Regions from separate parts of the Homo sapiens genome. Here all the other regions are linked to region 1. The links are contacts of gene promoters, found by promoter capture Hi-C in blood cells and fetal thymus (Javierre and others, 2016). All regions are on one chromosome and are shown on one strand. The core of a region is centred on a gene start or on the middle of the fragment in contact, and the rest is flanking DNA. Distances in the headings are between cores, read along the strand shown.

Region 1 (3,488 bases), core at 333-2,832:
TAAATGCACTATACAAATTTAAGCCCTATAATTCCTTAGTAAAGATATAAAATTCAAACAATTCAGAAGTGACTGGGGCAAAGAACTCAGGTATACTAACATTCTATTCTCCTTTAAGATTTATTGCTCTTTTTTCCCTCTTGTTTTTAAGGTGAAACCATTTGGTATATTAGATGAAATCGTCACAGTGCACATTTAGAATATTATGAATTTAAGACTAAGAAATCACCAACACAAACCACACATTTGCAGTTTTTTGCAAGTGAATTTTTTTAAGTTTCAACATTAACATTTGTATTTTGCATTAAATTATTTTAAATAGCATTACACTAGCCTATACAAAATTTGTTATTGACCTATTTGATATTTGTGTGCTTATGGAAATGGAAAAGGTTTTTAATCCCAAACCACCATCATGACACAAGAGAAAGAGAGAGAGGAGAGAGAGAAAAAGAGAAAGGGAACACATAGTTGTGTTGAAAGTAAATCCAAGAAATCGCAAGTAGCCTTAACATTACCATCCAGGAAAGTCTGTTCAAGATAATCAATGATCTGAGTGGCCTCACAAATTATGTTTTCCCCGTGGATAAGGACAGGCACTTCTCCAGTTGAGTTCAAACGCATAAACCAAGGCTCATTGTGCTCACTCAAGGGCAGACTTACATCATGTTCCTCGCACTTCAATGCCTTTTCAGCAATTACCAAGCGCACCTGGAAGAGTTCACACTGGTTACTACAACACATGTAAGCTTTCAATTAAATGACTTCCCTGGACACCGCTAAGCAGCCTTTCTGGGCTTCCCTGTGTTACCGACATTTTCAACAGTCGTTTTAACAATTCCTATTCCTGGAATTAACAAGTAAGGAAAGAACAATACTCAACAAATTAAGAGAAGAACACAAAATAAGTAATGAAATGATTCTGACTGTATTCATTAAACAGTCACCCTCCTCATCACTACCACTTTCTCGGTGTCCTAAACCTGATTATGGGTCCTCCCCAGACAAGAACCTGACATGTAGGTACATCAGCTCTTGCTGAAGACAGTGAATGCGAGAGAGCAAAAGAAGAGATCGCAGATTATGAGGGTCCACAAAGGCACCTCCCTCTGCCTCTCTCCGAAGACCAGCAGGCAAGGCCTCCAGACCAAATACTGAAAATGATGCTTTTTTGTCGCATTTCGCGAGAGGCGGAGCCTGGGCCATAGCCACATAGGATCATCTCCGATCGATTCTCCCCGCTCCCCACCCGGGCGCGTCCCCGCCTGGAGGGAGCGCCTGCCCGGGGTCAGGACACTGGAGGCGGATTTCTAGGTGGACCGGCTTCCCTGGGCGGGACTCAGAAGGAGCTGTCCCAGTGCTGAAGCCCGATCCGCGCCACCCTCCGCCGCCAAGGCCTGTTGTACCTTTTGAGAGCTGAAGGAATGCGTCCAATGGTACAGAATGAGCTTAACCTCCGCGTCGGCCTTGCCTTCCGCCCTCAAGGGCGGGCTCCCTCTCTGCTCTTCCTGCCTCTCAGCCATCTTGGGGTGCGCGAGCACGGGTGCGCCCAGCCTGTCCGCCCTGGACTTCTCCCTCCCACACTGCCCCGCAAGGCGTTTCCGGGTTTTGAGGGGTACCTGCCGGAAGGAGGGCGCGCGGCCCGCTGGGAAATGTAGTTTCGCCGGCGGCAGAGTCTGCGAACACGCGGGGTCTGCGACTGGAAAGCCCCTGGCAAGCCTGGGAGTGCACCTGGGAGGTGCAATTGAACGGTTGTTTTTTGGGTTTGTTTTTTTTTTTAGAAGAAAAAATAAAAAATATGAGACCCTGGTTATGAAGGGCAGTAAGGAAGAATGATGATAGCAAATTACTCTTCGGTTTGGAGGTTGCTCAGGTATAAAAGCAGCAATTTCCCAAGATACTGAGGGTTGCTCTTGGAGCCTGTTCCTTTGTTGGAAAGGAAGTTCCGGTCGACAAGCAAAGCAACAGGAAAAGGATCTATGAGCTTTCATTAGAAGATGCTACTATGACATTAGTGGACTAATTCCACAAATTTGACTAACTGCTGTAGATTAGAGAATAGTCTTGTATAAACAGTAAGTACTTGATTTTGATAATTAAACTGTGCTTTGTAAAAGAAAAAAAAATACCACTATGGAGTCATGCAAAAAAACTGTTTTTGTCATAAACAGCTAATAAACAATGGCGATATAAAATAGCCTAGTTGTTAAACACAAAAATTCTACAACAGTACTGCCTAAGTTCATATCCTGGTTTTTCCATTTTCTAAGTAAGAATAATAATTTTATTGTTTCCCTCATAAGATTTTTGTGAAAAATTAATAATAAAATGTTAAACACTCAGAACACCCTGTCACGTTGTAGGCACTCAGTCTTAGTCACAGGTTCAGTTGTCTTATAAACATTCTGTTATAACCATAGTCAGAATCATAATTTTATATTAGTCTAGTTATTATTGTATGTCTTTAAAAATTTGGCATCATATAGTAAGTTGATTTTAAAAATCTCTTTCAGTAATATGTATAAATATGACCATAGAATAAATGCCTGTATAATTTATCTGGCAAATATTTATTGAGCACCTACACTGTTCCAGACATTGTGCTGGCTCCTGGTAATATAAAGATGTGTGAAATCTAATATCTAACACTCAAGATATAATCTGGCAGTAGAGACGACCAAGGAAATAGACAATCACAATAAAGATGAGAACTGTCTTAGGGTGAACACAGAGTACTATGAGAAAGGAGGGGCAGGCAGCCAACCCAGGTCAGAGAAGGGCCCCTGGAAAAGACAAAATCTCATGAGGTTCTTCCTTGCCTTTACAGTACTTCATTTGTTACTCTCTGTAATTCTTTCATAATTTTTTAAGATTTCATAATGTCTTTTATATCCTTCAGTTAATTCAAGTGCTATAGAAAAGGTGAATTCCTTGCCAAAATTGTTTTTATCAGTTCACACTTAAGAGTAAGAGCGGAAAGAGGAAAACTTTGAAATCGGACAGAGTGGGGTTTAAATTCTAGCTCTACCCTAACTTGAGCTTTCTTGAGCTTTGACTTCATTGTGTGTAAAAAATGGATACATAAAAATTATATGCCTACCCAGATGGCTGTGGGAATTCAAGAAAGGATATATATAAAGCACCTAGGGTATTGCCTGGAATGTAGCCATTGATAAAAACATATGTGTAAAAGCCCCTTCACTGACATTAGGAGGGCATTATATTACATTTCATCCTCTCTCTGTAGGTCTCAAAATTTTTACAACTACCCATATAATCCTCCTCTCCCATTCCTCTTCAGAACTTCATTTTTTAATTATCCACCTTCAGATTCCTAGTTTTCTATTCCATTACCTTCAATAGCAAACACCACGCTTACTTTTGCACCAACCTTAATACTAAATCATCCTAAATATTTGAATAAATTCCAGTACTCGTGATAAGCCATGTGTCACCTGCAGCTGAAAAAGTCCTGACAATAAAGCCCT
Region 2 (3,488 bases), core at 571-3,070, 690 kb after region 1:
ACCTACAGTTTTGGTTTCTGCCACCAGATGGTGCTTGTATACTGATCAAACAACATACAGACTGGGTGAGCTCACTTTGGTTACTATTCCAAGGCCATTAAATTAGAGGTTAAACCGTATGAAACTGCCAATATTTGACGTTTCTTTGACCTACAAATATGTCAGTTTCATATGTTCAACCCAATAGGAAAAAGTCATCCAAGTATACAACATTAAATTCTCTTGGATAAATGAAGTAAGCATAAAGTGGTGAAAAGCCCAATTTGTTTCAATAGATATAGAACTTTGCCTTTTGTATACTACATCCCTTGGTTTGGGGAATATATTCTTTTCTCTTTTCTCATATGCTTTACACATGGAATGTGTGTCAGAACTCTTAAACTGATTCTACTTCATGTAGATATCACTTTATAGAATAGATGTAGAACTGAAAGATAGGCAGCAAGGTAACTTTTTAAATATTTTGTTAAAAATAATGTTAAATTATTAACATTAATGTTAAATTAGGATTTTTTTTTATTTGGGAGAAATTAACCTAAACCCATAACAAAGACGCATTAGAAATGTCTTTTTAAAACTCTCATAAACCAGAGAAGAAAATTTGAACAAGTTACCAAAGCAAGGATGAGGAAGAGTGAACTTAAGATCAGTATCCCCCATGGTCACAGATATAAAAATTATTATTATTATTTTTTGAGACAGTCTTGCTCTGTTGCCCAGGCTGGAGTATAGTGGCCTGATCTTGGCTCACTGCAACTTTTGCTTCCCAGGTTCGAGCGATTCTCATGCCTCAATTTCCCGAGTACCTGGGACTACAGGCGCATGCCACCACACCTGGCTAATTTTTTGCATTTTTGGTAGAGACAGGGTTTCAACATGTTGCCCAGGCTGGTCTTGATCTGCAGACCTCAAGTGATCTGCCCACCTCGTCCTCCCAAAGTGCTGGGATTACAGGCATGAGCCACCATGCCCAGCCAGATAAAAATTCTTAACAAAATATCAGCAAATTAAATTCAGCCGAATTTAAATAACATTATGATTAAATGAAGTTTATTCTAGGAAAGCAAGATGAATTTAGTATTCAGTAATCAAAGTAATTAACCCAATTAATAGAATAAAGGAGAACAACCATATCAGTATCTCATTAGGTGCAGAAAAAACATTTGACAGAAGTCAGCGCTCACTAATGATATAGACTCAGCAAACTAGGAATGGAAGAGAACTTTCTTAATCTGATAAAGGGCTTCTTCAAACAACCTCCAGATAACATTATGCTTTATAGTGAAAGACTGAATACTTGTAAGATCAGGAACAAGGCAGTAATACACACTGTTATCACTTCTGTTCAACATTATACTTAAGGACTGGTACGGTGGCTCATGCCTGTAATCCCAGCACTTTGGGAGGTCGAGGTGGGCAGATTGCTTGAGCTTAGGAGTTTGAGGCCAGCCTGGGAAACATGACCAAACCCCATCTCTGTTGGCGTGTGCCTCTAGTCCCAGCTACTTGGGAGACTGAGGTGGGAGGATTGCCTGGGCCTGGGAAGTCAAGGCTTCAGTGAGCTGTGATCGCCACTGCATTCCAGCCTAGGCAACGCAGTGAGACCCCACCTCAAAAAAACAACAAAGAACCCCACATTATACTTGAGTTCTATCAAGTGCAACAATAAGAAGAAACAAATGGGGGAATATTGGAATAGGAGATATAAAACTATCTTCATAGACACCATGATTCTGTATGTAGAAAATAATAAATCAAAAGTACTGAAAAGCTACTGAATAAGTGAATTTAGTAAGGCCACAAGTTGCAAGGTTAGTATACAAAAATCAGTGGTATTTCTAGTAAATAGTAATGAGCAGTTGGGGAATTAAATAGCGTGAAAACATATTCAGAGATAAATTTAATAAAATAGGTACACAACCTGTATAATGAAGGCTATAAAATACTGCTCAAATTAAAGAAGACTCTATTATTTAAGATTTCAGTTCTCTCAAAGTTGATGTGAAGATGCAATGCAGTTGTAACAAAAATCATAGTAGAGTTTTTTTTTTTTTGGTAAAATTAATAAAGTAGTGCTGACATTTGGAGATGCAAAAAAACAATTTGGCTACTGCAAATTGTTTTTGCAGTAGCCAAAGCAATTTTGAAAAGAACAAAATTGGCTGGCCCACACTACCTGACTTCAAGATTTGCTATAAAGCTACAATAATCAAGACAGCAGAAAATTAACATAGGGACAGATATATGGATCAGTGGAACAGAATAAAACAGCAGTTGGCAAACTATAGCCCATGGGTCACGTCTGGCTTGCCTGTTTTTGTATGGCTTGCAAGCTAAGTAATGTTTTTTACATTTGCAAGTGGTTGGAAAAACATCAAAAATAAAATGATATTTTACAACACATGACATTTAGATGAAATTGAAATTCTAGTGTGTGTCAGTAAAGTGTCATTGGAACACAGCCACAGTCACTTGCTTATGTGTTGTATATACTTGCTTATTTATAGTCTGCTTTTGTGTTACAACAGCAGAGTCGAATAGATGTAATAGATCATATGGCCTGCAAAGCCCAAAATATTTTATATTGGGCCCTTTACAGAAGTTTGCTGATCTCTGGAATATGGAGGCAAGAAATAGATCAATCCATATATGAACAATTTAATTCTTTCAAAATTAATTCCAGTGAAGGTGCTAATGGGGAAAGGATACTCTTTCCAACAAATAATAGTAAAATAATTGGCCTTTCTGACAGAAAAAAAAAAGAACCTGGGCTGGGCGCGGTGGCTCATGCCTGTAATCCCAGCACTTTGGGAGGCTGAGGCAGGTGGATTACCTGAGGTCAGGAGTTCGAGACCAGCCTGACCAACATGGAGAAAACCTGTCTCTACTAAAAATACAAAATTAGCCTGGCATGGTGGCGCATGCCTGTAACCCCAGCTACTCAGGAGGCTGAGGCAGGAGAATTGCTTGAACCCGGGAGGCAGAGGTTGTGGTGAGCTGAGATTGTGCCATTGCACTCCAGCCTGGCAACAGGAGTGAAACTCTGTCTCAAAAACAACAACAACAACAACAACAACAACAACAAAAACCCCTGAACCTTGACTTCACACCACAGACAAAAATAAATCAGAAATGGGTCATAGACATATATGTAAAAGTTAAAGTAAAATTTCCAGAAGAAAATACTTTGCTACTTTGGAAATAGACAAAGATTTCTTAGAACACAAAAAGCACGGATCATGCAACAATTGAGAAATTACATGTCATCAAAATTTAAACATGGATCATGAAAAAATTGAGAAATTATAAGTCATCAAAATTTAAACTTCTGGTACTAGAAAGACACTTTTTACAAAATGAAAAAGCAAGACATATATTAGAAGGAAACATTCGTAATACATATATTTGAAAGAGGACTTCAGAATATATAAAGGAATACCTACAACTCATTAATAAGGCAAAAATGGACAATATTTTTGAATAGACAA
Region 3 (3,488 bases), core at 267-2,766, 670 kb after region 1:
ATCCATTGTGCTAGTTGTTGCCCCAATACCTTTTGTCTGTTTTTTCTCATTGTGTTATTGTTTTATAGGCCCTGTGAGATTTATGCTTTAAGGAGGTTCTGTTTTGGTGTATTCTGAGGCTTTGTTTCAAGATTTAATAATTCATTTTATTACTTCTTTAGTGCTGACTTGATAGTGGCAAATTCTCTCAGCATTTGTTTGCCTGAAAAAGACTTTTATCTTTCCGTCATTAATGAAGCTTAGTTTCACTGGACATAAAATTCTTGACTGATAATTATTTTATTTAAGGAGGCTAAAGATAGGACCTCAATTCCATCTGGCTTGTAGATTTTATGCTGAGAAATCTGCTATTTATCGGATAGGTTTTTCTTTATAGGTTACCTGGTGCTTTTGCCTCACAGATCTTAAGATTATTTCCTTTGACTTGACTTTAGATAACCTGATTGACTGTGTGCCTAGGTGATGATCTTTTTGCAATGAATTCCCTGGGTGTTCCTTGACCTTCTTGTATTTGGATGTCTAGATCTCCAGCAAGGCCAGGAAGTTTTCCTTGATTATTCCCTCTAAGTTTTCCAAACTTTTAGATTTTTCTTCTTCCTCAGGAACACCACTTATTCTTAGGTTTGGTCATTTAACATAATCCCAAACTTCTTGGAGGCTTTGTTCATTTTTTAAAATTCTTTTTCCTTTGTCTGTGTCAGATTGGGTTAATTTGATTAGGCCTTGTCTTTGAGCTCTGAAGTTCTTTCTTCTGCTTGTTTGATTCTATTGTTGAAACTTTGCAGTATATTTTGCATGCCTCTAAGTGTGTCTTTCATTTTCAGAAGTTGTGACTCTTTTTTATTTATGATTCTATTTCTCTGGAAATTTTTTCATCCATGTCTTGTATTATTTTAAAAATTTCTTTAAGTTGCCTTTCACCTTTCTCTAGTGCCTCCTTGAGCTGCTTAATAACCGACCTACTGAATTCTTTTTCTGGTAATTCAGATATTTCTTCCTGGTTTGGATCCATCGCTGGTGAACTAGTGTGATCTTTTGAGGGTGTTATAGAACCTTGTTTTGTCATATTACCAGAATTGTTTTTCTGGTTTCTTCTCATTTGGATATACTGTGTCAGAGGCAAGATCTTGAATCTGCTGTTCAGATTCTTTTATCCCACGGGATGATCCCTTGATGTGGTTCTCTCCCCGTTTCCCTATGAATGGGGCTTCCTGAGAGCTGAACTGCAGCGATGGTTATTTTTCTTCTGGGTCTAGCTACCCAGTGGAGCTACTGGACTCCAGGCTGGTATTGGGGAGTGTCTGCAGAAAAAGCATTTGCCCTAGGCTAGAAGTCTTCCTGCTAAGAAAGCAAGCAGGGCTTTCAGGCCTTGCCCTTCCATGCCTGCAGTGGCTTCTGTTCTCATATCTGTACTTTCCATTGGCCCCCTATTCCCGCCGGCCCCCTATTCCCACCTCCTCCCCCACCCCCCACCCAGATTCTGCCCAGGAAAATTTGCATTCAGTCAAAATTATGACAGCGTTCAGCTAGAAGTCTTTCTCACTGTGGTACTTCCCTAGTTCCACTGACTGCCTTCCCCAAGGACCACTGTGAGATGAAAGTAAAAAAAAAAAAAAAAAAAAAAAAAATGGCTTCCCTAGGGACTGGGAGTGTCTACAGGGGTCTCTTATCGCTGCTGCTTCTAGTTTTTGTTTTTGTTTTTGTTTTGTTTTTTTTTTTAGGTGGAGTCTCAGTCTGTCACCCAGGTTGGAGTGCAGTGGCGTTGATCTTGGCTTACTGCAGCCTCCGCCTCCTGGGCTCAAGCAATTCTCCTGCCTCAGCCTCCCAAGTAGCTGGGATTACAGGTGTGCACCACCTTGCCCAGCTAATTTTTTTTTTTTTTGTATTTTTAGTAGAAACAGGGTTTCACCATATTAGCCAGGCTTGTCTCAAACTGGGCTCAAGCGATCCACTCACCTTGGCCTCCCAAAGTGTTGGGATTACAGGCATGACCCACCATTCCTGGCCTGCTTCTTCTACTTTTATATTTCGCTCAGCTCTCTAAATTTGTTTCAGTCCTAGGTAAGGTTAAATTCTTCTGTGATCTGGATTTTCAGGTTCCCCAGTGAGGATGTGTGTTTGGAGGCAGACTTTCCCCCTCTCACACTTTGGGCACTCACGGTGTTTTGGCTGTCTCATGGAGTTTGCAGCGGCAAGCTGCTTCTTTCAAAGGGTCTGTGAATTCTTTCAGTTTTCCTGGTATGTTCTTGTGGTGGTTCTTGGAGCAGAGTTTACACTGTGAGTCTCCACATGCTGTTTTGTCCTGAGTGGGAGCCTCAAGTTAGTCCTGCCTGATATCCATCATTTTCTCCGGGTGACCTCAGTGAATCTATATGTCCCGTTATCTATTGGGAAAGGCAAACCTGTATTTTGGACATAGTGTATTAATTGATAACATTAGGTTAATGGAATTACTATAACTTTAGTACCAGCCATATATCCATTTACTCATTCATTTGTTAACTGATTAATTCAAGTGGTTACCTTCTAGTCAATATTAATTTCGCCTTAGATATTTTTGTTATGGAGGTTAAGAAAGATTTTGTGCCTGTCAACAATAACTCTAAAATGTATTTAATCATTCTCTACTTGGTTATATTCATAATCAAATCACATAGACACTTGTTTCATTCTCATGTGGTCTGTGCTAGGTTGACATTCTCTGCTCTTTCAAGGACTACTCTGCAGAATCCATGGCTTTCTGATTGCAAGTCTCTGCTTCTGTTCAACTGATTGCAGTATTTATTAAGCTTAAATAAGCCAAAATATTATTACAATAGAAAAAAAACTTATTCTCTTCATTTTGAAGTTCCTAAAAGATTGTCCATTTCTTTAATTTTTAAAAGCCTCTTCAGAATACTGGTTGATCATTAGTAGCATACCACCACCATGATATATTTAACACTTGCTTTTTACATATCTAAGAGAAATAAAACATTGTCCCTTTCAGTGAGTGTCTTACAGTCTTATATATGAACACGTAATTTGATGGTAAAGATTAAGTGCCAAGTAGACAATAACAGCCATCAGTATTACAGGTAATGATAAACATGGACTGAAGTAGTTGAAGTAAGATACAGGCCTTGACCGAAAAGTAGGCAGTTATAGATGAGAGGAAAGAATATTTTAGCCAGAGGGAATACTATGAGGAAAGGCTTTGAAGTAGGAATCTGGACAATGGATTTGGTAAAAAAAAAATTTTATAGATGGTTTTTAATTAGAGCAGGTAAATGACTAGTAGGAGGTAAGACTGGAGATGTAGTTAGTGAGTGAATTGGGACGACTTGAATGCCAGCTTTACGAGATTAAGTTTTATACGTAGCTGGGAGGAATTAATATTCATGAGCAGTGCATGATGCATTTAAAGGAGTATTTTAGGAAGCTCAGTTTGACATGTAAAGGGAAGGTGGGAGACACTAAAAAACCATTGTCATAGTTTATGGGTGAAG
Region 4 (3,488 bases), core at 458-2,957, 630 kb after region 1:
CAAGTTAAGGAAAAAATAATATCAATTTTATATGCTTTTAAAAATATTGAAGTGGAAGGAATTTTTTACAAGGCTCATGATGCCAGCATTACTGGGATACCAGAATCAGACAAATACATTTTAAGGAAATTACAGACCAGTATGTCTCATAAATATAATTGCAAAAATCTAAACAAAGTTTCAGCAAATCTAATTCAACAGTTTATTAAAAGGATAATATGTCATAACCATGTGGGGTTTATCCCAGGAATGTGGGGTTGGTTTAGTGTTCCAAAAAATCAGTAGTGTAATTTAACATATTAATGAACTAAAAAGCAAAAATCACATGATCATCTCAATAGATGCAGAAAAATCATTTGATAAAATCTAATATTCAGTATCATAAAGACTCTCAGCAAACTAGAAGTGGAAGTGAACTTTCCCAGCCTGCTAATGTGCTTCTATGAAAAACCTTATTAGCTGACCTTGTACTTATTGGTGAAAAACTGGACACCTTTTTTTTTGAGACAGTCTCGCTCTGTTGCCCAGGCTGAAGTGGCACGATCTCGGCTCACTGAAAGCTCCCCCTTGTGAGTTCGTGCCATTCTCCTGCCTCAGCCTCTGTAGTAGCTGGGACTACAGACACCCGCCACTATGTCTGGCTAATTTTTTTGTATTTTTTAGTAGAGACGGGGTTTCACCAGGTTGGCCAAGATGGTCTCGATCTCCTGACCTTGTGATCCACCTGCCTCGGCCTCCCAAAGTGCTGGGATTACAGGCGTGAGCCACCACACCTGGCCAAAACTGGACACTTATTTTAAAAAAAGAAGACGGGATGTCCACTTTAACCAGTTCCGTTTGACGTTGCCGTGGAGGTTCTAGCCCATGCCATCATGCAAGAGAAGGAAATGCATGGTGTTCAGATTGGAAAGAAATGAATAAAACTGTCCTTATTCACAGATGACCTGATTGTCTATGTAGAAAATCTGATGGAATCCTACTAGAACTAATAAATTACTATAGCAGAGTTGCAGGATAGAAGAGCAGTATGCAAAAACCAATTGTGTTTCTATACATTAGCAGAGAACAATCATAAATGAAAATAAAAGAGTAGCATTTTCAAAAGCATCAAAAATATGAACTACTTAGAGATAAGTCTAACAAAATATGTTAAAGAAAATGAGAACTACAAAATACTGCTGCAAGAAATTAAAGGATACCTGAATAAGATACAGTTGATTCTCATTATTCATGGATTCTTTACCTAGGAATTGGCTTACTCACTAATTTTTATTTGTAACCCCAAAACCAATACTTGCAGTGCTTTTGTGGTCATTCTCAGACACTTGCAGGGGCAAAACATTTTGAATCACCCAGTGCACATGTATATACCCAGCTGGGATCAAACAAGACAATGCTCTGCTTTCTTATTTTGGGTTTCATACTGTAAGCAAGTAGCCCTTTCTTGGTTTATTTAGTGCTGCATTTTTTGCATGTTTGTGCTTTTTGTTGGTTATTTTGATGTTTACAAAGATGGTTATTTTGATGTTTAAAATGTTTAAAGTGTAATGTTTAAGTGCCATATAGTGTTTCTAAGTACCAGGAGGCTCTGATATGCCTTACGGAGAATATATGTGCATTAGATAAGCTTTATTCAGGCAGGAGTTAAACAGTACTATTGGACATGAGTTCAATGTTAATGAATCAGTAACATATATTAGTAATACATACTAAACAAGAAGTCTCTAAACAGAAACACATAAAACATGACATATGATCAGTTCACAAAAATGTCAGCAGAAGCTTGCAAGAACCTAATACGTTAGTTCCCCTGGGAGCAATGGCTCTATAATTGCTGATTCACATAACAGTCATTGACATATTATTATCTCAATAATGAGAAGTGACTGTGTATCCTTTTCATGGGTTGGAATACTCAACTTTGTTAAAATGTTGATTTTCACCAAATTATAGATTTAAGAGACTTATATTTCAATCTTTGCAGGCTTTTTTATAGAACTGCACAGGGTGATTCTAAAATTCATGTGGAAATTTAAAGAACTTTAAACAACTGTGAAAAAGAACAGTGTGGGAGCCAACACTACCTGATTTCAAGAATTAAAAGCTGTAAAATAGTTTGGCGTAAAAATAGGTAAATAGGCGGCAGAATCGCTTGAACCCAGGAGGTGGAGGTTGCAGTGAGCTGAGATCGCGCCACTGCACTCCAGCCTGGGCGACAGAGCGAGACTCCGTCTCAAAACAACAACAACAACAACAACAACAACAACAACAACAACAAAAGACAAATAGATCAGTGGAAACAGAATTGGTAGTCCAGAAATAAACTCCTTATATGTAGATAACTAATAATTTTGACAAAGACATAAAGGCAATGTAGTGGGAGAAATGTAGCCTTTTCCACAGTTGGAAACAATTGGATATTGATATACAAAAAATGGATTCATACCTTGCGCTGTATAGGAAAACTAACTCAAAATGGCTTCTGGACTTAAATGTAAAACCTAAAACTATAATGTTCGTGGAAGAAAACAGGAGAAAAAAATTTTTAGACCTCAGTTAGGTAATAATTTTTTAGATATACATTAAAAGTACAAACTATAAAAATTGATAAATTAGACTATTAAAATCTGCTCTTTAAAAGACACTGGTAAGAGAATAAAGAGAAAAGCCACAGTTTGGGAAAAAAATTTTTATTTTTTTCGTAGTGATTCCTCTTTATTATTTTCTAAGATGACTGTCCATTTGCTCCAACTTTGTTAGCAATTCATCTTTTTCCTACTACTTTATTTATTTTTTTTGGAGACAGAGTCTTGCTCTGTTCCCCAGGCTGGAGTGCAGTGGTACCTTCTTGGCTCACTGCAGCCCCTCACCTCTTGGGCTCAAGTGATTCTTGTGCCTCAGCCTCCTGAGTAGGTGGGATCACAGGCGCACACTACCGTGCCCAGCTACTTTTTGTATTTTTAATAGAGGCGGGGTACCATGTTGCCCAGACTGGTTTTGAACTCCTGACCTAAAACGATCCACCTGCCTTGGCCTCCCAAAGTACTGGGATTACAGGCGTGAGCCACCGCGCCTGGCCTAGAAGAAAATCTTTACCAAGCATATGTCTAATCAGTAACTTGTATGTAGGATGTGTAAAGAACTCTTCAAATTCAGCAATAAGAAAAAAAAATCAAAAGTAAAATATTCAGACACTTCACCACAGGAGATACAGATGACATATAAGCAAATGAAAAAAGTTAATTAACAGTATTCATTAGGGAGATGCAAATTAAAATCACGAGGTATCATTATACACATATTTAGAATGACTGAAGTTAAGAAGACTGACCAAACTAAATACTGGTAAGGACACACTGTGTTTTTGTCCTGTTTAAATCTCTAGATAGCTTCACTGGAAAAGTTGGAGATGGAGGCACAACATGGCCTGCTTTAAATCAGATCCTTGAGCATTATTTTTCTGTTTTTCAGGACCATGGTGGCACTGT
Region 5 (3,488 bases), core at 676-3,175, 520 kb after region 1:
GAACCACTGGAACCTAATTTCTCATGTCCTCTTCTCCCTTTTCCCCCATGGTTTCTGGGTGTTTCTGCTGCTTTACTTACAGTACTTAACATTCTGCAGTTATTTTCCATTTTGTAGTTATCTCAATCTGTAGCTGCCATTTTCCCTACCACTTGGGAAAGCAGGCCAGTATGGCCATGATGGTTTTATAAGCCAGTGGTGTCATACCTTTAGCAAGTGTTCTGTCCTAAATACTAGTGTTTCTTAACAAATTTGTTAATACTTTGTCTTCATTTATAGGTGAATGCAGCCTCATGTGATTATAGCTTTCTGGATTGTGTGACCTCTAAAAGGTCATACTAGTTCTTCATATTTACAAACAAAATGTGAATTTTCATTTATCTTTACATGCAGCTCTTTAAATCATTTTCTTTCAGCTCTTCCATGTCTACATTTGGGAAACTTAGAACTAGTTTTTTAGAATCACGACTTCAGGATTTTTCCTGCCCTGTCTAATGAACTGTTGTTCTGGGAAGAATGCAACTAAGGGTGAATTCTGTTTTTGTGAATCTGCAGAACAGATACTACACATTGCTTGACCTTTCACTGTTTGTATCTTTTTAAAAAATGTTTTATTTGTGAATGTAGTATGTACTCATTTAACCCCCCAAATGCTGGCCCTTCTCTCTCACTATTTCAGGGGATGTGAATATGCAAGGCAGTTTATTGCCTAGTAGCTAAGAAGGCTGGGGGCTGGCATGAATTGTCTTTTTTTAATGTAATAATTCCACCCCCTCAGTAAAAAAGCATGGTCCAGTGAATGTCTTAGATTGTGACTTAGTGATATTGATGAGGAAGTAGATGACAGTCCCTTCTGGGATGGAGGGGAGGATGGAGCAGTGGTCCTGTATTATCTATCAGTGCGTAACAAACCCTTAAACTTAGCGATTTAAAACAACAAATGTTATTTCACAGTTCCGAGGGTCAGGAATCAGAGGCATAGTTGTTTGATTCTGGCTTAGGGTCCCTCTTGAGTTTGCAGGTAAGGTACTGGCTAAGATAGTAGTCATCTGAAAGCTTGATTTGAATTGAAGGATTTGCCTACAAATCATCACATGGTTATTGGTAGGAGGTTTCAGTTCCTCACTATGAAGGCCTCTGAATTAGGCTGTTCTCAACATGATAGCTTGATTCCTCCAGAGCAAGTGATTTGAGAGAGAGAATTACCAAGACAGAAACCATAGTGTTTTGTTTTGTTTTGTTGTTTTTTGAGGCAAAGTCTCGCTCTCTCGCCCAGGCTGGAGTGCAGCAGCTTGATCTCACTCACTGCAACCTCTGCCTCCCGGGTACAAGCAATTCTCCTGTCTCAGCCTCCCGAGTAGCCGAGATTACAGACGCATGCCACCACGCCCAGCTGATTTTTTGTATTTTTAGTAGAGACAGGTTTTCACCATATTAGTCAGGCTGGTCCCGAATTCCTGACCTCAGGTGATTCACCCACCTCGGCCTCCCAAAGTACTGGGATTACAGGCATGAGCCATCGCACCCGGCCACAGAAACCATAGTTTTTAAAATAATCTAATCTTGGGAGTGACACACCATTTCTGCTGTATTCCATTGGTCACACAGATCAGCTCTGAGGGAGGGAACTACACAAGGGTGTGAATACTAGGACCTTTAGAGTTTGTTGGGAATTATCTTGAAAGTTGGCTATCATAGGTCCCTTCCTTTGTGGAGATGAAAGAAGTCTAAGGGTAAGGAGAAACTTTTTTTTTTTTTTCTATAGAACCCTTTTCCATTATGTTCAGGAGACCAGGGATGATATACCAATAAAGCGCTTTTTTAGTTTAGTTTGCTTTTGTTGTCTTGTGTTTCGCTTGGTAGTTATGCAGATTGATTCTCCTTTATATTCTTGCTTCTCCTACTAAGAAGGATTATCCTTCTTGACTTAGTAAAGTTCTCAAGATCTGGAAGATTTCTGCAGCAGTGTTTCCCAAAATATGGTCCTTGAAACAAGGCTTGAGACGCTCTACAAAGGGTTCTATTATCTTTGGAAACCTCTTTTTTGTTGTTGTTGGGAGTTTTTTGTTTATTTTATTTTATTGAGATGGAGTCTCACTCTATAGCCCAGGCTGCAGTGCATTCGCGTGATCTAGGCTCACTGCAACCTCCGCCTCCCGAGTTCAAGCTATTCTTGTGCCTCAGCCTCCCGAGTAGCTGGGATTACAGGCGCATGCCACCACTCCTAGCTAATTTTTGTATTTGTAGTAGAGACGAGGTTTCGCCATGTTGCCCAGGCTAGTCTTGAACTCCTGACCTCAGGCATTACATGCTCCTTGACCTCCCAAAGTGCTGGAATTACAGGCTTGAGCCACTGTGCCTGGCCTTGTTTAATGTTATTAGAGACAAGTTCTTGCTGTGTTGCCCAGGCTGGACTCCAACTTCTAGACTCAAACAATTCTCCTGCCTCAGCCCCCTGAGTAGCTGGGACTACAGGCATGCATCACTGTGCTCAGCTATTTTTGGAAACCTCTTTATGTCATCTTGCCTTTGGACAATGACTGTACAAGTTAGTATATGGAAAGTTCTGTTGAAGAAGCCAGTTCTTTGTTTGACCCAGTTTTTAAAAAAATGTACGTGATCACAGAACCCTCATTTGTGAATATCAGTAGAAAATAATTAAAACCTTGTTCAAACAGAAATTTGCATAAATTTGTCTTTATTCAAAACAAATTATTTAAGCAAATTTAAAGTCCATTACAGTGATTCACAACACAGTTTTCTATCTGTAGTGGTGTTGGATGGCTAAGCTTATTTTAAGTGACATAAATTGAAAAGACGTAGAAACATTACTTACTGATAGTAATATTTCATTGTCCAGAAAAAACAGAAACCAATTTTTAAGCAGAGTACTCTTAAGAAATGAACAGATATCCATACTTGTCTTCTTCACTTTAAGAAAAGACTTACGCTGGGTGTAGTGTAGGTGCCTGTTGTCCCAGCTATTTGGAAAGCTGCGGCAGGAGTTCTGGGCTGTCATGCACTATGTCGATTGGGTGTCCACATTGAGTTCGGCATCAATATGGTGACCTCTCGGGAGCGAGGGACCACCAGGTTGTCTCAGGAGGAGGGGTGAACGATCCAGGTCAGAAACAGAGCAGGTCAAAACTCCCATGCCAATCAGTAGTGGGATTGCACCTGTGTACTCCAGCTTGGGCAACATAGCGAGACCCTGTCTCTGAAAAAAAAGTCATATTAAGACCCTTTATAATCTTGCATGCAATTTTAATAACATTAGTTATTTGGTTTTAAAATTCATAAATTAGGGACTACTGTGTTTTGTTTTGTTTTGTTTTGTTTTTGCCTGGTTGTACACTGAAAAAGTATGTCCACTGATGATAACAAGGGAAGAGGTGTACAATAAAAGCTGTACAAATAAGCGTGCAAAATACGTAGCCATTTTAGGATACCTAATATGTAGGAAGAAAACCTTAACATATCTCAGATCA

Evidence for each region. Contacts are between HindIII fragments. The CHiCAGO score rates a contact against its expected background, and 5 or more counts as called.
Region 2: a contact is called between a fragment that was not itself captured here and the fragment with the promoter of GDAP1 in region 1, in 1 of 17 cell types (fetal thymus). The highest score is 5.5, in fetal thymus.
Region 3: a contact is called between a fragment that was not itself captured here and the fragment with the promoter of GDAP1 in region 1, in 11 of 17 cell types (naive B cells, activated CD4 T cells, total B cells and 8 more). The highest score is 13.3, in naive B cells.
Region 4: a fragment that was not itself captured here is called in contact with the fragment with the promoter of GDAP1 in region 1 in 1 of 17 cell types (fetal thymus); the score reaches 5.6 in fetal thymus.
Region 5: a fragment that was not itself captured here is called in contact with the fragment with the promoter of GDAP1 in region 1 in 1 of 17 cell types (total B cells); the score reaches 6.4 in total B cells.

What each region holds. Positions count from the first base shown.
Region 1 is chr8:74,348,497-74,351,984 of GRCh38, reverse strand. GDAP1 (ganglioside induced differentiation associated protein 1) reads right to left here and starts at 1,582. Exons shown (of 6, transcript NM_018972.4): 1 at 1,407-1,582; 2 at 519-711. The coding sequence starts at 1,523. RefSeq lists an enhancer at 1,340-1,569. The HindIII fragment of the contact is 8,708 bases long and covers 752-3,488 here.
Region 2 is chr8:73,662,197-73,665,684 of GRCh38, reverse strand. All of the region lies in intron 6 of STAU2 (staufen double-stranded RNA binding protein 2), which reads left to right. Among named protein-coding and RNA genes, the nearest start is that of STAU2, 83 kb to the left of the region's middle. RefSeq lists a silencer at 1-211. The HindIII fragment of the contact is 9,464 bases long and covers 1-3,488 here.
Region 3 is chr8:73,678,119-73,681,606 of GRCh38, reverse strand. The region is part of intron 5 of STAU2 (staufen double-stranded RNA binding protein 2); the gene reads left to right. Among named protein-coding and RNA genes, the nearest start is that of STAU2, 67 kb to the left of the region's middle. The HindIII fragment of the contact is 2,551 bases long and covers 241-2,791 here.
Region 4 is chr8:73,716,413-73,719,900 of GRCh38, reverse strand. The region is part of intron 3 of STAU2 (staufen double-stranded RNA binding protein 2); the gene reads left to right. Among named protein-coding and RNA genes, the nearest start is that of STAU2, 29 kb to the left of the region's middle. The HindIII fragment of the contact is 155 bases long and covers 1,630-1,784 here.
Region 5 is chr8:73,833,504-73,836,991 of GRCh38, reverse strand. The region is part of intron 1 of UBE2W (ubiquitin conjugating enzyme E2 W); the gene reads left to right. It also overlaps the pseudogene RN7SL760P. Among named protein-coding and RNA genes, the nearest start is that of UBE2W, 44 kb to the left of the region's middle. The HindIII fragment of the contact is 1,733 bases long and covers 1,059-2,791 here.